Regions from separate parts of the Homo sapiens genome. Here regions 2, 3, 4 and 5 are each linked to region 1. Evidence: promoter capture Hi-C in human tissues and cell types (Jung and others, 2019). All regions are on one chromosome and are shown on one strand. Each heading gives the region's core, a stretch centred on a gene start or on the middle of the fragment in contact. The rest is flanking DNA. Distances are from core to core; before and after follow the strand shown.

Region 1 (5,355 bases), core at 951-3,450:
TTTATCTGGAAAACAAAGGGCTCATAAAAGATGATCTTCCCAGAGCCCTTTGAGCCTCAACATTATGTGGGTCACATGCAGAAATTGCTTGAAACATAGGCTAGGGGTTAAGGAGCAACACTTACTGCATGTTCGTCAAGTGCTAGACACTTCACAACCACGGAATCTTTTTTTTTTGTAGACGGAGTCTCGCTCTGTCACCCGGGTTGGAGTGCAGTAGCGTGATCTCGGCTCACTGCAACCTCTGTCTCCCGGGTTCAATTGATTCTCCTGCCTCAGCTTCCTAGTAGCTGGGATTACAGGGGTGAGCCATCACACCCAGCTAATTGTATTTTTAGTAGAGACACGTTTTCACCAACATGGTGAAATTTTTGTACTTTTTTTTTTTTTTTTTTTTTTTTGAGACAGAGTCTCACTCTTGTCGCCCAGGCTGGAGTGCAGTGGCAGGATCTCGGCTCACTGCAAGCTCCGCCTCCTGGGTTCACGCCATTCTCCTGCCTCAGCCTCCTGAGTAGCTGGGACTACAGGCGCCTGCCACCGCGCCCAGCTAATTTTTTGTATTTTTAGTAGAGATGGGGTTTCACCGTGTTAGCCAGGATGGTCTCGATCTCCTGACCTCGTGATCCACCGCCTCGGCCTCCCAAAGTGCTGGGATTACAGGCGTGAGCCACCGCGCCCGGCCATTTTTGTACTTTTTATAGAGACAGGATCTCGCCGTGTTGCCAAGCTGGTCTTGAACTGCTGACCTCAAGTGATCTGCCTGCCTCGGCCTCCCAAAGTGCTGGGATTACAGGCATGAGCCACCATACCCGACCAACCACAGCATCTTTAATCCTCAACAACCCTATGAGATACATCCTGATTACTCCCATTTTACAGATGAGGAACCCGAGGCTTAAAGAGTCCTGAGGTCACCCCACCTACAAAGTCTGAGTTAGATCTGTTAGTGCCAGGCAAACTCTAGGCTTTTCCCACGGTGTCAGCTTTATCCCTAATTATTGGGCAGTCTAGGTGGGGCGCTTATGCCACTCCTCTTTCCCAGCTGTCCAAAAGCCCCACTGCTCTGTGCTGTAACATCTCATGGCAGGCACTATCAGAACTTTGCAGCTTCATTCCTGGGCTGCAGGGCAGGAGGGATGGTTGCTTCCTTTTCACAGGTTGGGGGAGGGGGAACAGGTGGCCTCACTTCTTTGGTAAATATTCCTTGACCATACACAGTCCTGAGCCCTCTGAGGGTGGGAGGCTGGGGAAACAGAGAAAAATGAGATCATGGTCTAGTGAGAGAGACAGACAAGCACCAAGTCATAACTGTGCAGGGTCATATATGCAGAGATGGGGGAAGTACAGGGCTGTGGGGACCAAGGAGTGAGGGGCTGCCCAGGGCCAGTCAGGGAGGCCAAGCCCTAGCTCAGCCCAGAGCAGGGCCCAAACAAAAGCCCAGGCTGAGAGCACATGGCCCAGCCAGACTCCCACTCCCAGGAGGCCACCAGTTGGGTGCAAAGTGCATGGCGCATTGGCAGGCCTGGGTCCCAGACCTGGTGCTGCCACGGCACAGCAGGGAGGGTGACCTTGGACAACTCCCATTCCCTCTCAGGTCCGTTTCCCCACCTGTACAGTTCGAGGTGGAGGAACAAAGGGTCTGTGCAGCCATGGCCCCTGGGGATCCCCCACTGCTCCCCTGCCATCATCTCTTTCCCACAGAACTTCCCGACGGAGGAGCTGACTACCAGAAGCCCCCAGTGGGTGTTAAATCACAAGCTACGCCTGGGAATGGGCCACTCCTCCTGTCTTCTGCCCTCTCCCACTCTCCAGGGCCCAGTACCTGCCCTTCTCACCATCTTTCATCAGGTCCCCATCACAGCCCGGTCCCAACCAGGACAAAGACCCTACCCATCCCTTTCTCACCTCCCCCATTCTTTGCCCAGACCCCTCCCTAGGCCTTGATCCTGCCCCGCCTCTAACCCCCAGATTCCAAGCGAGGAGTCTCAGCCCCTCCCCCACGACCCAGTCCCTGGCCCCCGCGCCTGCACCCCACCCCGCGCGCGTCTATCCCTGCCTGGCCGGGCTCTCACCGCGCCGCAGCTGCAGACGCAACGTCCCCAGCGCGAGGCCCCGGGCCCCCCAGCAGCCGCCGCGCCGTCACAGAGATGCTGCACAGCCGCGGAGCCATGTTGGAGCCGCAAAGGTTGCAGGAAGGCCCCGCCCCCAAGCCCTGGTGGCGGAGGCGGGGCGCGAATAAACTCCACCCCTCCGGCTCGCCCGCCCCCTCACTCACCCGGTCAGGTGGGCGTTTCCTGTGGGCGTCTCCAACTCCGCAGGTGCTGGACGGAAGTCAGGGTTCTAATCCTCTGCGCGCTCTGCGACCTTGGCAAGCCCTTTGCCCACTCTGGGCCTCAGGATCCACCTCGGTAAAATGGGAGCGTGGAACAATAATACCAAGGGTTCTTTTTTTTTTTTTTTTTTTTTTTGAGACGGAGTCTCGCTCTGTCGCCCAGGCTGGAGCGCAGTGGCGCGATCTCGGCCCACTGCAAGCTCCGCCTCCTGGGTTCACGCCATTCTCCTGCCTCAGCCTCCCGAGTAGCTGGAACTACAGGCGTCTGCCACCACGCCCAGCTAATTTTTTGTATTTTTAGTAGAAACGGGGTTTCACCGTGTTAGCCAGGATGGTCTCGATCTCCTGACCTCGTGATCTGCCTGCCTCGTGCTCCCAAAGTGCTGGGATTACAGGCGTGAGCCACCATGCCCAGCCTACCAAGGGTTCTTAACAAGGCTGTCCGGGATGTGCAGCAGAGGGTCAGTGTAACCACCCCATGGGTTCATTTTGCCCGTTTCCCAGACAGCGGATTTATCAAGACAGAGGAATTGCAATAAGAGTTTAATTCATGCAGAGCCGGCTGAATGGGAGACCGGAGTTTTATTATTACTCAAATCAGTCTCCCTGAAAATTCGGAGACTGGGTTTTATTAAGGATAATTTGGTGGGTAGGGGCCAGAGAGTGGAGAGTGCTGATTGGTCAGGTCGGAGATGCAATCATAGGGAGTGGAAGCCGTCCTCTTGTGCTGAGTGGATCTCTGGGTGGGGGCCACAAAACCGGATGATCCGGTTTCTTAATCTGTGTATCGCCAGCGGATCCATTGAGTGCAGGATCGGAAAAATATCTTGAGCACCAATCTTAGGTTTTACAGTAGTGATGTTATCCCTAGGAGCAACTGGGGAGGTTTAGAATCTGTGGCCACTACCTGCATGACTCCTAAACCGTAATTTCTAATCTCGTGGCTAATTTGTTAGTCTTACAAAAGCAGTCTGGTCCCCAGGCAAGAAAGGGGTTTATTTTGGGAGAGGGCTGTTATCTTTGTTTCAAAGTTGAACTATAAATTTGCTGCCGGGCATGGTGGCTCATGCCTGTAATCCCAGCATTTTGGGAGGCAAAGGTGGATCAGAAGTTTAGGTCAAGAGTTCAAGACCAGCCTGGCCAACAGGGTGAAACCCCGTCTCTACTAAAAATACAAAAAAATTAGCCAGGCATGGTGGCGGGCACCTGTAATCCCAGTTACTCGGGAGGCTGAGGCAGGAGAATCTCTTGAACCCTGGAGGCAGAGGTTGCAGTGAGCCGAGATCGCGCCACTGCACTCCAGCCTGGGCAACAAGAGCGAAACTCCGTCTCAAAAAACAAACAAAAAGACTGTAAGTTTGGCCTATGCCCAGGAATGAATATGGACAGTTTGGGGGTTAGAAGCAAAATGGAGTCGGTTAGGTCAGATCACTTTCACTGTCATAATTTTCTCACTGTTAAAATTTCTGCAAAGGGGTTGCATCAGTAAGCCCCCTGAAATTGTATACAACGTTACGTGCTCCTCTGTGGTGCATTCTCTGGGGAAAGGCATTCACATGCCAGGTTTATCACCATCAAAGAAACAAACTTCCTTACAAGTGAAGACAGGGGCAAGGCTGTCAGCTGCAGACACTTTATCTCCACCATCTCCTTTCCCCTTTTCATCCCCCTTTGACTTCTCTGCCTGAAAATCCTGGGGCCTCTTTCTGCCCTGCCCAGCTCTTTTGCCCGCCCTCTAAACTAATCCCTTCTCAGCCCACAATCCCCCAGATCACAGACATTGGCAGGGGTGGAGAGCCTGCAGACCCCACAGGGGGCAGGGGCTCTATCCACTTCCAAAGGGGCAGGGACAGCTCCCCAAAAGAATGTCCACCCACTGACTAGTGGTTGCCTCCTGTTATGCTTGGCATGGGGGGAGTGGAGGCCAGGCCATGATTGCACCACTGCGCTCCAGCCTGGGCAACAGAGCAAGACCCAGTCTCTATAAAAAAATAATAATAATTTTAAGATTAGGACCACGTGTGGTGGCTCATGCCTGTAATCCCAGCACTTTGGGAGGCCAAGGCAGGAGGATCTATGAAAATTCAAAAAATTAGCTGAGCATGGTAGCACACACCTGTAGTCCCAGCTACTCAGGAGGCTGAGGCAGGAAAATCACTTGAGGTAGGAGGTCCAGGCTGTAGTGAGTTATGATTTTTTAATTAAATAAATAAATCAGGCTGGGTGCGGTGGCTCATGCCAGTAAATCCAGCACTTTGGGAAGCCAAGGTGGGTGGATCACCTGAGGTCAGGAGTTCGAGACCAGCCTGGCCAACATGGTGAAACCCCATCTCTACTAAAAATACAAAAATTAGGCCGGGCGCAGTGGCTCATGCCTGTAATCCCAGCAGTTTGGGAGGCCAAGGCAGGGGAATCACCTGAGGTCAGGGGTTCGAGACCAGCCTGATCAATATGATGAAACCCCATCTCTACTAAAAATATAAAAATTAGCCGGATGTGGTGGCATGTGCCTGCAATCCCAGCTACTCAGGAGGCTGAGGCAGGAGAATCACTTGAACCCAGGAGGCAGAGATTTTAGTGAGCCAAGATCGCGCCATTGCACTCCAGCCTGGGAAACAAGAGCGAAACTCCGTCTCAACAAAACAAACAAATAAATAAAATAAAAAATAAAAATACAAAAATTAGCCAGGCATGGCATGGTGACGCACACCTGTAACCCCAGCTACTCCGGAGACTGAGTCAGGAACATGGCTTAAACCCAGGAGGCAGAGGTTGCAGTGAGCCAAGATCGCGCCACTGCACTCCAGCCTGGGTGATAGAGATTCCATCTCGAAAAAAAAAAAAAAATCAAAGTCAGTATGATCTTAGCAGAGTCCCCAGTCAAAGCCACTCAGGAAAAACCCAGGTGGGTTGATGGAAGCACAGCAAATGGTGTCATGTGGTGGGAGCAGCTCTTTCCTTAGGAACCCAGCGTGGCAGACTGACTGTGGAGTGGTGGAAGTGACCACCTCCGCCAACCTGAC
Region 2 (5,355 bases), core at 1,272-3,771, 890 kb after region 1:
TACATGCCCTACAAGTGAAGACGTGACCATTACTCTACTAAGATGCCAGTGGTGGCACTGTCCTCATCAGTGCCTTGATGGGCTAAACTTCTTTCCCACCCAGACAGGATGCTTTAGGCAATGCCTTAGGGGGCAGGGGTGCAGAAGCACAGGCTAACCGTGGTGGTTACGAGCCTGGGTTTGGGGGCCCAAACAGGCCTGAGCATAAATCCCAGCCCTACCTTGGGCTATGGGACTGTGGGCAAGTTACCTAATTTTTGCTGGGCTTCAGTGTCCTCATCCACAAAATGGGGACAATAGCATCCATCATTGTGATGATTAAAGAAGCTCATGCTGCTAACATCTTAACCTAGGCCTGGACCTTGCAAGCCCCCAGGAAACATTCATTATGACTGTAGGAAAGGAGACTGCAGGCCTGCGGGTTCCACAGGCCTCTCAGGCTTGCTGCCCCTCATTCATGGTCCCCAGTGACCTTGAGTGGTACGTCCGTGAAAGACTGAGGTGTTTGGCGGTGTTGGCTCACCTCTGGGGGCTGCCAATCAAGGATATGGTCAATATCCATGGTCTTCCGGAACTCCATGTACTGAAAGGGAAATGAGTGGTAAGATCCCACTGGGCTCCCAGTGCCCTGAGAACAGGGATGGAAGGAGGGGCTTGAGGCATGGATTGCCCCTGACAAATCCCCTCCATAAATTTCCAGAGTGGATAGGTCTCACCTTGCGGAGCAAAGCCTCCGACTTCTGCAAGTCAAAATTCCGAGCTGTGGGAAAACAGAAGGAAGGTGTGAGACAGGAAAGATGCCTTGTCTTACTCCTGGCCAGTGGGAGCTATGGAGGACACTGGGGGCCTGGGTGAGACCTTGCTCCCCTACCCCCTTCCCTCCTCTGGACCTGAACATGTGAAGCAAGATTGTGTGGATGGACCCTGAGAGCCATGAGACACTCTGGAGCAGTTGAGACCAGGCCCCTCTTGATGCCCCCTGATCCCAACCTCTCCCACCTCTGCCCTCACCTCGGAGCCAGCGTAGAAGGAAATAATCATCAGGGTTGGGCAGGGCAGGAAGCACATCCTGGACGTTTTCTCGGAACTGGCAAGAGAGATGCTGGTTAAAGTGGCTCTCTCACATTGAGCCTTGGCCTCCAGACTCAAAGACTGTTTTCACAACCTCTCCTTTCCTCCCACATGCAAAATGGCCCACATTGATGAAAGGATGGGTTAATGGTTGAATAGAAGGGCAGATGGATCACTGGATAGGTGGATGAATGGAAGGAGGATAGATGGATGAATAAATGGTTAGAAAGAAGAATAGATGGGTGAGTGGGTAGGTAGATGGAAAAAGGGAGAAGAAATCAATGGATGAATGGATAGATGGATGGATGGAGAGTGGGTGGGTGGATAAATCAGTGAATGGACAGAGGAGAGATGGGTGGGTGATTGAGAGAAAGAAAGATGGATAGGTGGCTGCGTGGGTAGGAAGAGGGATGGGTGGATGAAAGAAAGGATAAACAGCCAGGTATGGTGGCTCACGCCTGTCATCCCAGCACTTTAGGAGGCTGAGGTTGGTGGATCACCTGAGGTCAGGAGTTTGAGACCAGCCTGGCCAACATGGTGAAAACTCATCTCTACTAAAAATACAAAAATTAGCCAGGTGTGGTGGCACATGCCTGTAATCCCAGCTACTCAGGAGGCTGAGGCAGGAGAATTGCTTGAACCTGGGAGACAGAGGCTGCAGTGAGCTGAGATCGCTCCACAGCACTCCAGCCTGGATGACAGAGACTCCATCTCAAAAAAAAGAAGAAAAAGAAGAAGAAAGGATAAATAATTGGGTGGATGAATAAGTGGATTGGAGTTTGGATGCATTCTTAGTTCCCTCCATGTGTTAGCCCTCAAAACATCTGCTTTTTTTCATCCCATCTTCTATTAAAACATGGTTAATAATTATATGTCCTCTTCTTCCTTTAGCTCTTTGAAAGACAACACTTTCTGCTCTGTCTCTTGGGCTTTTACAGACTGGTCATCTTTCAGGATCCCAAAGAGGAAGGGGTTAAAGGGCAGACCAGCAGCATCTTTCAGCTCCTACCTATGGTGCCTGGGAGGGAGGAACGGGGGTACCTGGCTGCCAGGTAAACCTCTCTGGTTCTGGCTCCTGGATGAGAAGAAGTCAGGCTTGACTTGGGTGGGCACCACCCACGTTATTGCCTGGAAGTGGTGCTAGTCCCTCAACCCCCGCCCGGGACAGGGTTGATGTTACTGGGCACCGTGGGGCTTGACCCTTTGGGAGGTAACACCAAAGAGACAATGTCAAGGACATGCTGAATCAACTGAGTGGGGCAGGATTCCAGCCACTTCTTTCCACCCCCCAGCCCCTTTCCCCTGGTCTTCCGGAACTCCAGGGGGAGGGGCTCTCACCTTGGCCAGGGTCTCTGCCTGTTTGGGGCTCAGGTCTCCAACTCGGCCGCTCATGGTGCTGGCTGGGGCTTGAGGAGTGGTGGCCACTATAGGCAAGAGGCCAAGCCTAGTTTGTCAGCCCTGACCCAGCTGGGTCCTTTTGCCCCCACTCCTGGGCGTGGCTCCAAGCGCCTCCTCATGGGCCAACTGTTTAAATTGCAGATTACATAATTGGGATTAAGTGAGGTCCCCTGCTTGGCTTGGGGACAGATCTGGAGGGGCAGGCGGGCATGGAGCGTGTGCCAGAGGTCCCCTGCCAGGAGGAGGCAGCTGGGAGGAAGGGAGGCTGGCCTCCCGTGACCTTGGAGCCCAGAGTGAGTGCCTGTAGAACCCGCTGACCCTCCCAGGCCTCCAGTGACCACTGCCCTGGAGAAGGGGGAGTTTCAGGAGAATGAGGACCGCTCCTTGTGGGTACCCTTTCTCCCTGAGCCCCAGTCTTCCCACACTTAGGATTCTGCAAAGATCACCCCCCTCTACCCAGCTCTGAAAGGGTAGGATTCTGAGGCTTGGTCAGTGTAGTAAACAGTTCATTCACTTTGTTGGGGGTGGGAGGCCCAGGTCCTTCTTTTGTGTCCACAGTCAAGAAGAGGACAGATGGCATCTTTTGAACGTCACTTGCTTCATTTATAAAATGGGGCCGTTAATGTTTGCCTTCCCCTCCTTATGTGGTTAGAGGGAAGATCTAATGAGACATAGGGACTGTCAAGGGTTGTGTGCATCTGAGGGATACTCTCCTTCAGCTCTCCTGGTCCCCCCTGGAGCTGTAAGCTTCAGCTCCAGGAAGGGAGAGACCCTGTTATCCATGACTCTCTCTGAAGAAACCATCAGCTTGAGGCTGCAGCATGGCCACATGGCCACATGGCCACATCTCAGCCTTGAGGGGGTCTGCATGGGCTGAAACCAACCCCGGGCTAGCCTCGGCCCCAGCAGCTGGGCTAGCCCACACCATTCTGCCTAGGGCTTTTCTAGGTCCCCTACTCCTGGGGCATCCTGGGTACCCACCCCTGAGCTACAGTGGGCCTCTATTCTGGGCTAACCCAGGGTCTCTTTAGGCTAGTAGATGTTGGTCAGTATCAGACATCTTCTCAGGGACATCTTCCTTGCTCTGGGCTCCTCACAGAGTTGGATCCAGAAGGAGAAGGCAGGGCTAATGCTGGCCATTTCCCTCTGCCTGGGGAGCCCGTGGCATGTACTCAGGAACAGTTAGGTAACTCTCCACACCCCAGCCCTGCCCCATTTCACATTCCAGCCTCAATTTCTGCAAAGCCCCAGCTGCTGTCTACACCCACTTCCTGCCAGGCCAGTAATGTACAGAGATTGGGTTCCTCCACTGCCCTTTCCCGAGCCACTAATCCTGCCCATTTCTCACCAGTCTCCTTTCTCACCCTAATCCCTATAATGTGAGGTGTGCTAGTTACTTCTAGGGGCATCGGAGACTGTGAAGGAGAGCCAGGAGGGAGGGTTGGGGGTCTCCTCAGGAGTTGTGAGCCTTCACACTGAGCTCTTTTCCTGACCCAGACCACAGATTTGTCAAGTACCTTGCTATGTTCACAAATCCTCATCAGCTACAGTGCCACTCCACAGAACTTCCTGTGATGGTAGACATCTTCTGTCTGGGGTGTCCTGTTAGACATATCTGGTAGCCACTAGTTACATGTGAAAGATGGTTAGCGTGACTGAGGAACTGAAGTTTTAATTGAATTGGATTTTGATACATTTTACTTTAAATTGTTCAATCTGGCTAGTGGTTACCATATTGGATGGTGCAGGTGGCCCATTTTTATTTTATTCTACTTTATTTTATTTTATTTTTGAGACAGGGTCTCACTCTGTTGCCCAGGCTGGAGTGCAGTGGCATGATCTCGGCTCACTACAGCCTCGACCTCCCCAGGCTCAATCAATCCTCCCCACCTCAACCCCCCGGAGTAGCCTGGACTGCAGGCACATTCCACCACGCCCTGCTAATTTCTTATATTTTTTGTAGAGATGGGGTCTCATTACATGCATTACCTCATTTTGGCCTGGTGAGGTGGCTCACACGTGTAAACCCAGCACTTTGGGAGGCCGAGGCAGGTGGATCACCTGAGGTCAGGAGTTCCAGACCAGCCTAGCCAACATGGCAAAACCGTGTCTGCTAAAAATACAAAAATTAGCCGGGCGTGATGGCGGATGCCTGTAATCCCAGTTACTCAGGAGGCTGAGGCAGGAGAATGGCCCGAACCTGGGAGGCGGAGGTTGCAGTGAGCCGAGATCATGCCACTGCACTCCAGCTTGGGGGACAGAGTGAGACTCCATCTCAAAAAAGAAAAAAGCAGTGCATTACCTCATTTAAACCTCAGAACATACCTGTGGTGTTGGGTAGGTACTATTACGCCCATTATGCAGATAAGCAAACTGAGGTATGGAGAAGTAACTTATCCAGGGGTAAACCCATGCAATTAACCACTCTGCCATTGTGCTGTTATGCTATCCCATAGTCTTGGCTCTAGGAGCTTCCACCTTAGTTAGGGAGAGAGCCTAAGCATGAAAGTCACCTATATGTGATGCAGTTGGCATCTGAGCCAGGCCTTGAAGAAAGGAAGGATTTTGATTTATGGAGAGCAGAATAAAGGGCATCCCAAGTGGAGGGGATGGCATGGGCAAAGGCATGGAGGTGGGAAAGTGAGAAGCATGTGGAGGGGGTAGATTACAGCAAACAAGACAGATTAGGACCCAGCTTGCATAGAGCTCACAGTCTCCCATTGGTGAGCATACCCTCTGTGCTGGGAGCTTTATATCATTATCAAATCATTCAGAAGCAGGTATGGGTATTCCCATTTTACAGCTAAACAAATAGAAGTTCAGAGAGATCAAGAAACTTTTCTGAGGTCACACAGCCAGTAAATGAGGAGCCAGAACTTGAACCCA
Region 3 (5,355 bases), core at 1,325-3,824, 690 kb after region 1:
TCCTGGGCCTTGGGGAGGCGCTGCTCTAAGTCGGCCAGTCTGTGCAGGACGCAGCCCAGTGTGGCATTGAGGGTCTGCAGGAAGCCCCGCCTGCCCAGCCCCCTCAGGGTCTCCTCACTGGGGAAGGCCCCGGGGCGCTCCCTGCAGTGCTCTCTCAGTTTAGGAACATCCAGGCCTTGGATACGTATCTGGCGGGAACAGGAGGATCACAGGGTGAATGCTGAGGATCCGGACCACACTCACAGACAAGTAAGCCTTGAAATGCTAGACCTCATGCACCCCAATCCAATCTCCCACTGGACAGATCCGGAAACTGAGGCCCGAGAGGGAAGAGGACCCCAAGATCACTGCAGGCAAGGTCGGAGTGATGTTGGGGGGCTGGTGGGATGCCCGTGGGGAATGAAGAGCTTCAAGAGGGCTGGACTCTGTCTTGCTCACTGCTACGTCCCAGTGCCTAGACCAGAGCCTGGCAGGTGTGCAGGAAACACACTGAGTAAGCAGGTGAGCATGGTGATGGTGTCCGGAGTCCCGCCCCGGGACCACAGAGCTAGGAAAGCTGGAGGGCCAGCCTTAGCTCCTCAGGGTTAAGGCTGGAATAACATAGCGACTCAGTTCCCCGACCTGGCCATATGGAGTGGGGCTAGGCCTGTCCTCCCTGCTTCTCACTCCCTTCCTAACCCCATAGTTCTCTGAGACTCAGATGCCACAAGGGCCCAGGTGCTTACATAGGGGTCCAGGAGTCTGCTGGTGTCCTGCATGAGATCTGTCTGCTTCTGGAGCTGGCCAAGGAGCACGCGGTACTCTTTCGAGCAGCTGCCTATAGCCGCCATGCTCGCCATGCTTGGAAACAGGAGTGCAAGGACCAGACCTAAGGCAGAGAAGAGGGGTGTCACCTGACTTGGTGAGGAAAGCCACAGATGGGAGCCTCGGGGAGGGGGTTCAAGAGGGCCTTGAAAGGTGCCTCCTTCATCCCAGACTTTGTGTAGTGGAGGGCGGGGGCTGGGCACTGTGTGGCACGGTGTGTGCCCAGGTGTGCCCACCAAGGCCACCATCATCTCCCCAGTAAGTCACTGCCCAGGGCCTGACACAGCAAGCAGTGGGAGGGACTGAGACAGTGGCTGCGATTTACCAAGTAGGTCTTTGAGCAAAGGCTGCAGTGCCTGGCCGGATCCCAGTCCTGCCTACAGCACGGTTCTAACCTCGGGAGCTGACTCTCTGCAAGGTGGGACTGGCTCCCTGCAAGACCACTGGGCTAAAGACCGGCCACTGCCCTAGGACCTGCCTTGTCAGCTGCTCTGGCCATCCAGGTAGATGGGCCTGAGAGGGCTTCAGGGCAGGCAGCCCGGGAGCAGCTTGTGTCCTCAGCTCTGTCTAGAACCAGGAGAGGCTGCCTTTTCAACCAGAGGTGCAGCCTGGAACAGATGTGGAAGACCTTCCAGTCCATGTCCCCACTTTCCTGACAGGTAAACCAAGTCTCAGGAGAAGGTCCTACTCAGGTCACACAAGGCCAGGGCTCTCCCCTGACCTCTCTTGCCTCCCTCCTCTCTCCATAAGTGGCTCCTTCTGTCAGGCCCACCAGGGATGCTGTGAGCCTGTCAGAAGGTGTTGGGGGCGGGTACAGTTACCGCTCACCACCACCCCCAACGGGGCACCGGCAGCCACGTGGTCGGAAGGGGCCTATGGCGCAATGGCCCGGAAGGCAGTGACACCATCGTTCCCGTCCTAAGAACCATCCGGCCCTTTGGGGAAGACTGGCTGTTGGGGAGGGCCAAGGGGCCAGGCACCCAGGCTTAGCGACCCCACGGCACCCTCGCCGCCTCCCCAGGTATCTGCTGCCGGGCTCTGGCAGGGGCCTGTGCCTGTGGCAGCGCACGTGGGACTGGGGTTTCTGTGTGGCTGTGCATCTGGGTCTGTGTGCGGCGTGAGGGAGACCTGTTCCGTTCACCATGGGGACTCTGGTCTGCATGTGGGGGTTCCTGGGCTGGTGAGATCCAGGGCTGTAGATGACGTCATATGGCTGTGTGCGCATGTGGCCATGTGGGTGTGGCTGTGCATGCTGTGTGATTGTGTGGGCCCTGGGGCCCCCAGGCCTGGCTGACTTTCTATTCATCCCGGGCAAGCTGGAGGCCCCACAACCCCTCCACACCTCACACCACTTCCCTGCCCAGCTTCTGAGCCTCCCTCTCCTGCCCAGCCTCTTTGCCCATCCTATTCTCTCACCCCCTGGTTCCCAGAGTTGCCTCTACATCTTGACATCACCTCCCCCTGGAAGCCTTCCAGGGATGCCCCTTCTCTACCTGTGGAGATGCCAGGTTCTCAGTGGACCACTCTCTCTGCCTGACCTCCTGGCTCTCTCCCCTTCTCAGCATCCTTCTGCCTGGCGCCTGGCCTCCCCAGTTCCCGGAGGGCAGAGGGTGCCTCTGCTCCCCACCGGCACCCGTGGGCAGACCCAGCAGGCGGGTTCTGGCGGGGAGGAAGGAAGTACTTACTGAGCAGCGTCCTCTGTGTGAGCAGTACCCCCATGCTGGGTGCCCGTGCTCCGGCCCGCGCCCGCTGGGGGTGACACCTCTCGGCTGGGAGCCCTGCAGGCTGGCAGCCACTTTATGCCCGCTGGGGCGATTGGCCAACACCTCATGAGGTGGGTGGGGATGGGGAGGGGGGAGGGCAGGCCTTCTGGGAACATGACCCCAAAAACCAAAATTTCCACGGGCGGCCAATGGGCGCAGGGCGCGGTGTATGCCCGCTCCTCCTCCTGTTTTCTTCGAATTCGTTCTTCGAGGTCAGCCCTACGCCCAAGGATGATGTAAAACCGCAGCCTCAGCCTTCCTAGGGTGAGTGGGGAGGAAAAGGGTCCATGCCATCTTCAGGGAACTGGGCCAGGGATGGGCAGGAGGGACTTCGAGCTGGGCCTCTGGAGGCCCCAGGCCAGTCTTGGCCCAGGAGCCATTGGCCTCACAGGACACGGTGGTTGGGGGCTGAGGGGAGCGAGACATCTTCCTTCTTGAGTGCCCTTCCTGCCCTCTCGCCGGGGCTGTTGGGACATCTGTGAGCGGAAACCACCGGGCTCTGGGCACAGAGCCAGACGCAGGCTGGCAGCCCCGAGATTGTGGTTCAGGCCCCAGGACCAGCATCCCCCAGCCCGGCTCCCGACGGTCTCCTTTCCCCCATCGTGCACCCTCTGCCAGGCCCACTCCCCAAAGCCAGGCCTTGTCTTTGTAGGCAGGCTCCACTGGGGAGAACTGGACACTTGGAGCAAGAGAAACAGGAGGCCAGGGTTCAAGCCTGCTGAGGTGCTGTGTGACCTGAGGCAAGTCACTTAACCTCTCTGGGCCTCAGAGACCCACAACTATAAAATGAGGAGGAGAAAAGCCTTTCCCAGCCCACCTCACAGGGTTGCTGCCAGCATGGACATAAAAGGAAAAGACCTCTGAAGGAAAAAGCAAAGATGAAGGTCTGATTCCAAGTATTAGCTGTCGAGGGGGCGGGATGGGGGAAGGAGGAGATGGGGAAGCTGTGAGCTCAGAGGGGAAGCCGGGGAGGGGGAGTTGCCGCCTTGACAGTTGGGGACCAGGTTTCACTTTCTCTGAAAGATAGCGATCTTAGGTTGGTCCTCTGCGAAAGGGCCCTGGGAACAGCGCCTCCCTAGTCAAACTGCTACTTTACTGTGGGGTAAACTGAGGCCTGGGTGAAGGCAGACAGGGAGGCCAAGAGGCTGGCCCAGGCCTATAGACCCTGCCTGGTCAGCACATCTCCCAGGCCCAGAGGAGGGTCCTTGGCCTGCACCCTAAGAAGCCCGGGTGGGAGGAGGCCCTCAGGAGTCTGGGGAGTCAGGGTGGGACTCCTGGAGGCTGCCAGGGAGGCCTGAGCTGCTCCAGCTGGAGGGAGCATGGGGTCTGGGGCGCCTGAGCAAGGAGAGCTGGGGCAGCCAGAAAGGAGGAGGTTGGATGCACCCCTGTCCATGCCTGCTCCCGATGCCCACTGTGGCCACCAAGGCAGTTGCCACCCATTCTCCCCATCACTCATTTATTCATTCGACAAACCTTTATTTGGCTCCATGCTGCACCAGCCACTCCCAGGTCTGAGGATCACGTAGTAGGCAAAAATAGGCGACCCCACGCCCAGGAGGCTGCTCTTCAGCCCCTACCCACTCCCCGGCACCCAGGCTGGGACTCACCACACCAGGCCTCATACCTCCCCCTCACCACCCCCAGGGGCCAGTTCTGGATTCTCATCCTGAGAATGTCGCTTCCGCTGAAGTCCTCATCTCTGTGCCCACCCCCACAATGCTGTTTCCTGGGGCCATGCCAAGAGGGGATCCTTCTCCATTTCACATCCCTGATCTCGTCTTTTTTTCTCTTTTTTTAAATGCAGGATCTTGCTCTGTCACCCAGGCTGGAGTGCAGTGGCGCCATTGTAGGTAGCTCACTGTGGCCTCCAGCTCCTAAGCTGAAGCAAGGCTCCCCGCCTTAGTCTCCTGAGTAGCTGAGACCACAGGCATGCATCACTATGCCCAGCTAATTTTTTTATTTTTTGTAGAGACGGGGTGTCACTATGTTGCCCAGGCTGATAACAAACTCCTGGGTTCAAATGATCCTCCTGCCTTGGCCTCCCAAAGTGCTGGGATTGCAAGCGTGAGCCACAGCACCCAGCCACCGATCTCATCCTGCAACAGCCAGGGGAGAGAAGCCGCTGGGCAGTGACACCTCAGCTCACTTCAGTGAGGAGCTCGAAGCTCTGGGAAGTTTAGGGGCTGGCTCAAGGAAGGAGCGCCAGATCTGAGCAGAGGGGTCTAGGCCATTTTCAGCTGTGGCTGACCGACCACCACGCTTGGTGAGAAACAGCCACATGCCTTTATCTTATTCTATCTATCCTGTGGTCCAGGGAGGCCGTGCTGTCTCCTCATGGCAGAGAGAGGAGGTTGCTTTGTCTGAGGTCACCTATGAATAGTTAAGAGGAGAGGGGCATTTGGCCAGGCATGGTGGCTCACGCCTGTAATCCCAGCACTTTGGGAGGCCGAGGCAGGAGGGTCATTTGAGCCCAGGACTTCGAGACTGTGTCTTTACAGAAAATGTAAAAATAAATTATCCAGACATCGTAGTGCATACCTGAAGTCCCAGCTACTAGGGAGGTTGAGGCAGGAGGATCGCTCGAGCCCCGAAGGTTGAGGCTGCAGTGAGCCATTATCATGCCACAGGACTCCAGCCTGGGTGACAGAGCAAGGCCCTGTTTAAAAAAAACAAAAAACAAAAAACCCACCAAGAAAAGAAGGCATTCAAACGAGGCCCAAAGACCATACTCTTTGCACATAGTTAATGAGGGTGTCAGGCACAGGGCCCAGGGCTCAGAGTCACTGAA
Region 4 (5,355 bases), core at 812-3,311, 580 kb after region 1:
ATATTTCCACAAAAGAGGAAAATGTGGGTAACTTCTAAAAATCACCAGGAGTTAGCTTCATATCCACAAAGTAAAAAAAAAACAAAAACAAAACTTAAAAGTTTGGTTCCTACATAATCAACAACTATACAAAGCATAAGGAAGAGAATAAAACACAGCCATATCTAAGGATGACAAATATTTCTTGATTTCACTTGGTTAGACCCTTCCTAATCAGGATTATTAAAACCAGGAATTATGAACTGTAGTGGTATAGCTTGCTCACTCTTTCTTTCCTTTCTTTCTTTCTTTTCTTTTCTTTTTTCTTTTCTTTCTTTCCTTCTTTCTTTTTCTTTCTCTCCTTTTCCTTTTCCTTCCTTCCTTCCTCCCTCCCCTCCCCTCCCTTCCCCTTCCCCTTCTCCTTCCTTCCTTCCCTCCCTCCCTCCGTCCCTCCCTCCCTCCCTTCCTCCCTTCCTCCCTTCCTGTCTCTCTCTATCTCTTTCCCCCTCCCCTTCTCTCTTTCTCTTTCTTTCTTTCTTTCCAGGGTCTTGCTCTGTCACCCAGGCTGGAATGCAGTGACATGATCCACAGCTCACTGCAGCTTTGACTTCCTGGGCTCCCGCGATCCTCCCACCCCAGGCTTCCAAGGAGCTGGAACCACAAGCGCACGCCACCGCTCTTGGCTGATTTTTGTATTTTTGGTAGAGATGGGGTTTCACCATGTTGCCCAGGTTGATCTCAAACTCCTGAGCTCAAGCAATCTGCACACCTCGGCCTCCAAAAGTTCTGGTATTACAGGCATGAGCCACTGCGCCTGCCCCTGTAGTGGTAAAACTTTAGTCACAAAAAATCAATTTCACATCTCATTTTAAAATTCTTTTATATGAACTACTGTCATGTTTTTCAAATTGGTGGACATCTGTAGCTTCACTGAATTAGAATGATGCCAGTGAAATGAGAGACAATGCGGAAAAATTAGAAAAGTTCTCCTAAAATAAGGCGGAGAGTTTCAACTCTTAATCATTGAATTTTGAAAGCCCTCAGAATAAAAATGTACCATATGCCCTGCCATAATACTGTTTCACTCTGCTCTCTGGCCCAGCTAGATTCGAACTAGCCCTACATTTCTAAGTAAATAGTGCTTAATTTGAAACTGAGAAGCCCTACCACATCACGGAAAATCTTTATAGGTTGGAAAATATGTATATTATGTCATGCTTTAGGTATATAATCTAGCCATATTCTGTAATAGATTTGCTGCAGTTTATACTCAACAACCTTGAGTTTTTAAGAAAACATATTTGTATATTCCAAATGTTTGGTTTATCTTTCATAGGAAATATTAGCCAAAAGGGATACCCTGTATTTCAGGTAAAAACTTAGTGATAGGGAAATTTAAAAAGTGTTAGTCAAAAATCGAATGTTTGCCCTATCAGGGTTGCCATGCATGACTGTGCTGATTGTGTACTGCATAATTCCAGGGATACCTAAAACACAGACAGAAATGTGAATGACACCCCTGGGGTTGAGCAACGCCTGGCAGCCCTGATTTTAAGTAAATAGTAAAGCTTTTGAAAATGCTCATTTTTTTTTTCTGATTCACTACTGAAGACCAGTTGTGAGCTGCAGGAGGGCTTTTATTATTTTTCCTATTTTTTTGTGTATATGCAAGGTCCTTAGTTTTTTCCTCTCCATGTTGTTTCCAAAAGACTTCCTTACTGACTGAGCTTCAGCACACTGCTCTGGCATTCTCCCAGCTCTAAGTTTTCATGAGTCAGGGAAAATGTGTGCACTCTGAAAAGAAGCTTGTCAGACATGCTCAGCCAGCTGACATGAAGTCCCTCTCTCCATTCTTCTTTTCCATCCACATTCTTACAGCCTACTGCTTGTACCTTTATTTAGCCCTGACTTCATCCTACCTGTGTTGGATGTTAGTTAGAGTTTGTTGTTTACATATCTGTGTTCCTTACTACCTTGAACTCTACTGCCCATCCCTGCTGTCCTGCTGCCACTGTGCCCTGCCCTTATCACCACCATAGCACTTAGCATGGTGCCTTGAATCTTCTGCTTGTCTGACCCTCCTCTTTTACCTTTCCATTCTTTGGTTTTCTTTCATTTTCTTTAGTCAGGAGGAAAATATGTATTCTCTAGATGGGGAGAATAACTGGAGGAATGGGAAGAAAGCTCACCTCCGTAAAAGACCAAGAGTGGCCCTGCAGTTAGTTCTGTTACTTGGTCACAACCCTCCATTTCCTCATTTACTCTTACTGTGGCCAGGCCTGGCCCAGATTTAATAAAACAACTTGAAGAGGGTGATATCATGAATTTTATTCCAGTTTTAAGTTTTTAGTGATGCAGTTGATTTTGAAATGACAACAGTACAGATGGTTTTTGCAAGGATGTAAAAGAAACTAGTAACAGTGATTGTCTTTTAGAAGGGGACTTGAATGGTTCTGGGATAGCAGGGAAAGTTTCACTATATACCTTTATATTACCTTTTGAATTGCATATTATGTAAATGTATTAGCTATTGAAATAGATACATAAAACTAACAAAAATGGAAGCAATTAAATAACTATAGTTGAACTAAATTGATGCTGTAGAAAATTCTGTTAATTACAACAAAGTGTTTGAATATATTTTTTCAAAGCTAGATCAGGAAGAGGAGAGGTATGATTATTCTCATTTTGTGTTAGAAATTTTGAAAATGTTTCATCATTTCCTGCATAAATAATATGAAAATTAAGTTTAGGTGCATGCTCCTTATATAAAACTTATCCTCACTCTGAACACTCAACTACTTCACTTTAGGGGTTTTCTATTTCTCTTCAATTGAATTTAGGGCCAATTTAAAGTGAAAATCTGACTTCTTAGTGACTGTATCTTGCAACTCTGCCTCTGCCTTGTGTGGAGGAACTTTACTGGGGAGGCCAGAGTTCCTAAGTGTTATCTACTTTGGTCTCTCCTTCCTGCCAGCAAGAGTAGGCAGTTATGACCTGAGGTTTAGATATTGCACCAATAGAGATCTTCCATCTTAGACAATTTTCATACCAAAGTGGTCTTTTTCTGATATTTTATAGGACCTATCTCTATAGTCATTTCTGTACTTACAGTTATGCTATGTTCCTCTCAACACCTGCTAAAGCACTTATAGAGGCTCATGTTCAAGCAAATGACCTACATAGCAAGTCTGTGAGAAGCAGGGTATTGCATTTCCAATTCTGTATCTATTATCTGTTCATCTCTTTTTTGAAGAATCAGCAAATGTATGTCAAACTTTAGTACATCTAATGACACCATCATGTCATTGCCTGTAAATTTCCTCTATTCATGCCACAAACCAAGAAACAACTTTTTCATTTTTATAATTACTTCAAGTATGTGCTTGAGCGTGTTTATGTATTTAATGTATCCACCTTTAACTACCACGGAATTCATAATTATTTACTCAGGCATTTGAAAGTAAGAAAGTAACTGACATTTTTCTATTGAAAAGTATTTAATAATATTTTAGAATATTTTATAATTTTTAAAAGCCTAATAAACATTATTTTTTTAAATGTTCTTTTTTACCTTTGCAAATAAAGCAAGATTGCAAATAAAAAGATTTTTACACTAACATTTTTTATCACTTTGAAATAAAGGGGATAAAAGAGATTAAAGTAATAAAAATGTTGATTATTATAACCGTGTCAAGTAATAGAAAACACAATTTAAACAATAAACACACTGATATGAAACTTCATATTTTTAAGTTTAATTATATTTAATACAATTTACACATGAATACATTCTCATAGATAGTTCAAAAACTGCCAATAAGGATATTCCATGCCTTTTCCTTTGCATTTAAAATACACACACAGGGTGGGCATGGTGGCTCACATCTGTAGTCCCAGCACTTTGGGAGGCTGGGGTGGGCCGATAACTTTAGCCCAGCAGTTTGAGACCAGCGTGGGCAACATGGTGAAAACCCGTCTCTACCAAAAATACAAAAATTAGCTGGGCGTGGTGATGTGTGCCTGTAGTCCCAGGTACTCAGGAGGCTGAGGTGGGAGGATTACCTGAGATGGGGAGGTCAAGGTTGCAGTAAGCCATGGATGGCACCACTGCACCCCAGCCTAGGTGACAGAGTGAGACCCCGTCTCAAAATACACACACACACACACACACACACACACACACGATATGTTGTTTAATACAGCAGCCACTAGCCACATGTGGCTATTGAGTACTTGAAATGTGGCTAGTTTGAATTGAAATGTAGGTATAAAATATACGCTGGATTGTGAGGACGTACTACAAAAAAAGAACGTAAAATATCTCCATCATTTTAATATTCACATATTAAAATGATAGTTTTTAATATATTGGGTTAAATTAAATGTTAAATTTTAATTTCATCGTTTCTTCTTACTTTTTAAAATATGGTTCAAATTTAAAATTATTTGGTGTGTAATTGTGTCTTGCATTCTATTTCTATTAGGCAGTACTGTATATAGGTATATACATGCAAACATTTGATTTGTGGACATCTTTTTTTTTTTTTTTTTTTGAGACAGAGTCTTGCTCTGTCGCCCAGGCTGGAGTGCAGTGGCGCAATCTCGGCTCACTGCAACCTCTGCCTCCCAGGTTCAAGCAATTCTCCTGCCTCAGCCTCTAGAGTAGCTGGGATTACAGGCACCCACCATCATGCCTGGCTAATTTTGGTATTTTTGTAGAGACAGGGTTTTACCTTGTTGGCCAGGCTGGTCTTGAACTCCTGACCTCAAGTGATCCACCCGCCTCAGCCTCCCAAAGTGTTGGGATTACAGGCGTGAGCCACCACGCCTGGCGATTTGTGGACATCTTAAAATCACAAATGCAATAATATTGTCCTTTTTTTAAACTTACTTTTTTCACTTAACATACGTCTTACAGATTTTTCCCTATTAGTATACTTAAATGAACCTCATTCTTTTTAACTGTGGCATAGTAATCCTTAGTATTAAAGTGTTCTAGGTTTATTTCAAGTTTTTTATATTGATGAACATTTAAGTTTTTACTTTTTCTTAGGAACATTGCTTCAGGAATGTCCTTGAACATGACTCTTTGTGCATATATGGGAGCATTTCTCTAGGATAGACACCTAGGGGGCCAGAAGATATTTGAAGTTTTTGATTATCTGGATATAGTCCTGTTCAAAGATTGTATTACCTCAGAAAAGATGCTTATTTTTTATGGTTTTGTCATTTTTATAAATCATGTGCTGATTTTCTTTTCTTTTTTTGTTTTTTTGAGACAGGGTCTCACTCTGTTGCCCAGGCCACAGTGCAGTGGCACAATCTTGGCTCACCTCAACCTCTGCCTCCTGGGCACAAGCAATCTTCTGCCAC
Region 5 (5,355 bases), core at 1,406-3,905, 540 kb after region 1:
TGAGATCGCCCATCAGGGTCTAGACTGTGATGAGGAAGAAGAATGCAATGACCATGTAAGGCAAAGCTTTAGAGATTTTCTATCGTGTCAGTTAAACACAATTGATATTTTTCAGTTTCTACCCAGGGCATGCACGTGGAGTGTGCCAGCTATAAAAACTGAAACAAAACTAGTCTCTGACATCAAGGAGTTTTTAATCTAAAAAAGTTTAATCTTCTAAAAGGAAATATACTTTATCAGATGAAATTGTCCATAACTAGGAGGAAAAAGATTTTCTAATATATTTATTTTATTAAAGATATCATAAATTTAGAAAATTTGAGGTTTTCTTTCCTTTATTTGTAAATGACATAATTTTAGGGTTGAAAAATATTCTAGGTATTTATTCATACTCATTGGAAGTATAAATCAGTTCTTGATACTGAGATAATTGGATGGGAGGAGTTGGGGAAGATAAATTTTATGGATAAACCCGAGTCAGCGTGAAAACAAATAATAGTTAACTTCTGGTTATGTGGAGGAAGACAAGCTTTGGGGCTAACTCACTGGGGAAAGTCAGGGGGTTGGTGGGGTTGGAGCTAGTGGAGCCAAACAGTCAGGTCTCTGATCCCTTTATCCTCCCATTTCCACCAATAGAGACTTGGAGTTAGATTCTTGCTAGGGTCCCATTATGCCCTAGGTAACTCCACACCCTTAACTGGTGGTTGTCTGGATAATAATGTTAACTGTATGACAACATTGTGTTAAAAGGGTTCTGAGTTAGACAAAAAATTTTCAGTAGGAAGGGATGCTATAAGATCTTTTCAGGAGATATTTTAAGATTAGAATGATAACTTGTTTGCTTAAGATAATTTGAGTCTTATTTAAAGATAGGTGACTGTACTAGGTAACTTCTGAAGGTTCCTTCTAGTTCTTTAACTCTGTATTATGTTTAATACATTGAAAAGAGGTTCTAGTTGTTCTAGTTTTAATTCAATTAATGTAAATAATATAACCAAACAAGTAACAGATTGTTTTTAAATTTTTAGTGCTTTCTCGATGTTAGACATAAAAATGACTTTGGATTTTGGTGCAATTTTCCTCTTCCAATTTCACCCAAGGAAGATATAGCTAACATAGAAAGGGGAAAAAAAATGAAGGTTAAGAAAAGAATGTTTCAGCTAGTTTTTTTTGTTGTTGTTCTTGTTGTTTTTGAGACAGGGTCTCGCTCTGTTGCCCAGGCTGAAGTACAGTGGTGCAACCATGACTCACTGGTGCCTCAGCTTGCCAAGGAATCCTCCTACCTCAGCCTCTCGAGTAGCTGGGACTATAGGCACATGCCACCACACCTGGCTAATTTTTTATTTTTTAATTTTTTGTAGAGACAAGGGTCTCACTGTTACCAGGGCTGGTCTTAAACTCCTGGGCTCAAGCAATCCTTTCACTTTGACCTCCCAAAGTGCTGGGATTACAGGTATGAGACACCACACTGGGCCTCAGCTAGGTATTTATTTATTTATTTATTTATTTATTTATTTATTTAGGGAAAGAGTCTTGCTCTGTTGTCCAGGCTTGAGTGCTGGAGTGCAGTAGTTGATCACAGCTCACTGCAGCCTTGACCTTCTGGGCCCAAGTAATCCTTTCAGCTCAGCCTCCAGTGTAGCTGAAACCATAGGTGTGCGCCACCACACCCAGCTTATTTTTTATTTTTTTTAGAGACAGGGTCTCCCTATGTTGTCCAGGCTGATCTTGAACTCCTGGGCTCCAGTGATCCTCCTGCCTTGGCCTCTCAAAGTGCTAGGATTACACCACACCTGGTTAGATTTTTACCTTTTAATTAAGAATTTCTTTCTTTTTTTTTTTTAATCAAATGAAAGCAGGACAACCTAAGAACGCATAGTTCAACTAATAGATTAAATAAGAAATGTGATAATCCTTCTCAAGCATACATTTAGTTGAAACTATATGTATTATATGGACTTTGTGGTAAACTTAGTTGATTGAAGTTTCTCTCTCAGCCAGCCAAACATATGAGAGAATTTAGTAAGTCTAGTAAAGTGGTTACTGTCACTTTCCCACTAAGGATTCCTTTTTGTTTTCCTTCATGGAATACATGGAACACACACACACACACACACACACACACACACACACATACATACATGTGTATACATATGTAGAATCTTTATTTCTTTTAAAAATTTTATTTTGAGATATACATATAATAGACTACATAAAAATATGTACAGTTTAAAGAATAATGAGAACATCCATATGTCCTCCATTTAGGCTAAGATGTAGAACATTGCTACTCCCTTAGAAGCCACCACGTGTCCCTTCCTCATTGCACGCCCTCTGAAGGTAACCACTCTCCTGACCTTCATGATAACCTTTCCTTGCTCTTCTTTATAGTTTTGCCATGGATGAGTACATCTACTCGTTTTAAATTTGTATATCAAAGTAATCATACTCTGAGTATTCTCCTTTAATTTTCTTTTGCTTGAACTTCAAAGTTGAGATTTAGCCATTGTGTTATTGTTCTTTCATTTTCACTGCTGTAGAGTTTTCTACTCTTGATAGACATTCTTTTTAATTGCTATAAACATTCATGTACATACCTCCTGGTACACCTGTCAAAGAGTGTCTCTTGGGAATATATGAAACAGTTCTAGGCTTGTGTATTTTCAACTATATTAGGTAAAGCAAAACTGTTTTCCAAAGTGGTCGTACCAACTTACTCGCTACCCCCAGTGAAGGAGAGTACCCTACATTCTTGCCAACACTTATTGTCAGGGTTTATGTTTCCTGCCAGTCTGCTAGATATGAAATGGTAATGCCTCATGATGTTAATTTGAATTTCTCTGATTATTTGTGTGTTTGTGCATCTTTTCTTTGGCCATCCTATTTTGCTCATATTAAATAGCTGTTCATGTCTTTCATGCATTTGTCTCTCAGGTTATTTATCTTTTCCTCAATGGTTTAAAAAATATGTGCTTAGTAATAATTCTTTTTCACTCATTTATGTTGCAATATTTTTTTCATGTTTGTGGCTCATCTTTTCACTTTCTTTTTCTTTTCTTTTTTTTTTTTTTTTTTTTTTTTTTGAGACAGAGTTTCCTCTTGTTGCCCAGCAGGCCTGAGTGCAATGGCACAATCTCAGCTCACGGTAACCTTCTTTCTCCTGGGTTCAAGTGATTCTCCCGCCTCAGCCTCCTGAGTAGCTGGGATTACAGGCATGTGCCACCACACCCAGCTAATTTTGTATTTTTAGTAGAGACAGGGTTTCTCCATGTTGGTCAGGGTGGTCTTGAACTCCCGACCTCAGGTGATCCGTCCGCCTCAGCCTCCCAAAGTGCTGGGATTACAGGCATGAGCCACTGTGCCTGGCTCATCTTTCACTTTCTTTAAGAGGTCTTTTGAGCAATGTAAGTTTTTAATTTTAATATAGTCTAATCTTTTCCTTTAATATGTGCTTTTGGATATCCTTAAGAAATCCTCTACCTAAGGTCATTAATAATATTCTCATATTTTATTCTAAAAGTTTTAATGCTTTTCTTTTTACATTTAGGTTTATAATCCACTTAAAGTTTATTTTCATTTATGGAGTGAAATAGACCAGACTTTCTTAACACTTTTAAATTCAAGAATAATAAACATACAGTAAAACATATGTATCAGTGATACAGCTCAATAAATATTCACAAACTGAACACTAGAGCTGGGATGAGGGTGATGCAAGCAAGGTGCCTAGGGAGCATATTTTAAGGAAGATCTCAGGTGCCAAGAGTAAGGACCTCCTTACATTTTGCCCCCTGGACATCTTGCTTGCTTTGTCTTTGTCACAACCCTACTGAATAAATATGTGAAATCAGCACTCAGATCAAGAAATAGAATTCTTCCAGACCCTGAGAAACCCCCAGTCTTATTTTACAGTCACTATTCTGCTCACAAGAATATTGCTATCCTGACTTCTATTCGCATAGATTAGTTTCTCCTCTTTATTTTATAGACATGGAATCATAGAGTATGGACTTTTTTTTTTTGAGACGGAGTCTCCCACTGTCTCCCAGGCTGGAGTGCAGTGGTGCGATCTCTGCTTTGCTCACTGCAAGTTCCGCCTCCTGGGTTCACGCCATTCTCCTGTCTCAGCCTCTCAAGTAGCTGGGACTACAGGCGCCCGCCACCACACCGCCTAATTTTTTGTATTTTTGGTAGAGATGGGGTTTCACCGTGTTAGCCAGGATGGTCTTGATCTCCTGACCTCTTGATCAGCCCGCCTCGGCCTGCCAAAGTGCTGGGATTACAGGTGTGAGCCACCACGCAGGGCCGAGTATGGACCATTTTTTCAGTTAACATTATGTTGTGAGATTTACCCATATTTTTACATGTTGTTGTAGACCATCCTGACAATTTATTCATTCTATTGTTAATGACAATTTATTCATTCTAATGTTAATTTGGATAATTTATAATTTTTGTCTATGATGGATAGAAATGCTTTGAATATTCTGGAACATGTTTTTTAGGGAAATAACTACACATTTCTGGTGGGAATAGAATTACTAGGAGTAGAATTGCTGGGTCAAAGGGTATGTGTATATTTAGTTTTAACAGATAGTGCAAAATAGTTTCCAAAGTATTTGTGCCAATTTACAATCCCACCAGCAATGTATGAGAGTTGTGGTTGCTTTACATCCTCACTAACCCTTGGCGTTTTCCATCGTTAAGATTTTAGCCATTCTGGTGGGTGTGCTGTGGTATGTCATTGTTGTTTTAATTTATTTAATTTAATTTATTAAACTAATTTTAACTAATGAAGAGGAGCACCTTTTTATATGTTTATTGGCCATGTTGAATATTTTCTTTTGTGAAGTATCTGTTCAAATTGTTTGCTCCTACCCTGCCTTTTTTTCTCTTGGATTGTCTTTCAATCCTACTGATTTGTAGGAGCTCTGCATATATATTCTGCATATAAGTACTTTGTTGGATACATGTATTGTGAATATCTTCTTCAACCTTACGAGTTGTTTTCTTAATGAGGTGTTTTATAAACAGAAGTTCTTTTTTTTTTTTTTTTTTTTTTTTTTTGAGACGGAGTCTCGCTCTGTCGCCCAGGCTGGAGTGCAGTGGCCCGATCTCAGCTCACTGCAACCTCTGCTTCCCTGATTCAAGCGATTCTCCTGCCTCAGCCTCCTGAGTAGCTGGGATTACAGGCATGTGCCACCACACCCACCTAGTTTTTGTATTTTTAGTAGAGATGGGGTTTCATAATGTTGGTCAGGCTGGTCTCGAACTCCTGACTTCGTGATCCGCCCACCTCGGCCTCCCAAAGTGCTGGGATTACAGGTGTGAACCACCACGCCCAGCCTAATTTTT

What was found. The method cuts DNA at HindIII sites, captures the fragments that hold promoters and counts their contacts. A contact is called where the count stands out against the background at its distance.
Region 2: a contact is called between the fragment with the promoter of SEC14L3 here and the fragment with the promoter of NIPSNAP1 in region 1, in 4 of the 25 tissues and cell types used here (aorta, hippocampus, mesenchymal stem cells and 1 more).
Region 3: a contact is called between the fragment with the promoter of OSM here and the fragment with the promoter of NIPSNAP1 in region 1, in 6 of the 25 tissues and cell types used here (IMR-90 fibroblasts, adrenal gland, dorsolateral prefrontal cortex and 3 more).
Region 4: a fragment that was not itself captured here is called in contact with the fragment with the promoter of NIPSNAP1 in region 1 in 1 of the 25 tissues and cell types used here (bladder).
Region 5: a fragment that was not itself captured here is called in contact with the fragment with the promoter of NIPSNAP1 in region 1 in 3 of the 25 tissues and cell types used here (dorsolateral prefrontal cortex, mesenchymal stem cells and spleen).

Annotation. Positions count from the first base shown.
Region 1 is chr22:29,578,913-29,584,267 of GRCh38, forward strand. It overlaps NIPSNAP1 (nipsnap homolog 1), which reads right to left and starts at 2,201. Exons shown (of 10, transcript NM_003634.4): 1 at 2,073-2,201. The coding sequence starts at 2,170. RefSeq lists an enhancer at 1,362-1,974 and a silencer at 1,958-2,007. The HindIII fragment of the contact is 21,243 bases long and covers 1-5,355 here.
Region 2 is chr22:30,469,496-30,474,850 of GRCh38, forward strand. SEC14L3 (SEC14 like lipid binding 3) reads right to left here and starts at 2,522. Exons shown (of 12, transcript NM_174975.5): 1 at 2,410-2,522; 2 at 1,012-1,087; 3 at 717-760; 4 at 524-583. The coding sequence starts at 2,463. The HindIII fragment of the contact is 19,065 bases long and covers 1-4,730 here.
Region 3 is chr22:30,264,277-30,269,631 of GRCh38, forward strand. OSM (oncostatin M) reads right to left here and starts at 2,575. Exons shown (of 3, transcript NM_020530.6): 1 at 2,490-2,575; 2 at 726-868; 3 at 1-188. The coding sequence starts at 2,523. RefSeq lists enhancers at 1-353, 1,739-1,818, 1,879-1,978. The HindIII fragment of the contact is 14,267 bases long and covers 1-5,355 here.
Region 4 is chr22:30,158,186-30,163,540 of GRCh38, forward strand. All of the region lies in intron 10 of HORMAD2 (HORMA domain containing 2), which reads left to right. Among named protein-coding and RNA genes, the nearest start is that of LIF-AS1, 78 kb to the right of the region's middle. The HindIII fragment of the contact is 4,795 bases long and covers 1-4,459 here.
Region 5 is chr22:30,122,160-30,127,514 of GRCh38, forward strand. It overlaps HORMAD2 (HORMA domain containing 2), which reads left to right. Exons shown (of 11, transcript NM_152510.4): 10 at 1-55. Among named protein-coding and RNA genes, the nearest start is that of HORMAD2, 44 kb to the left of the region's middle. The HindIII fragment of the contact is 8,876 bases long and covers 1-5,355 here.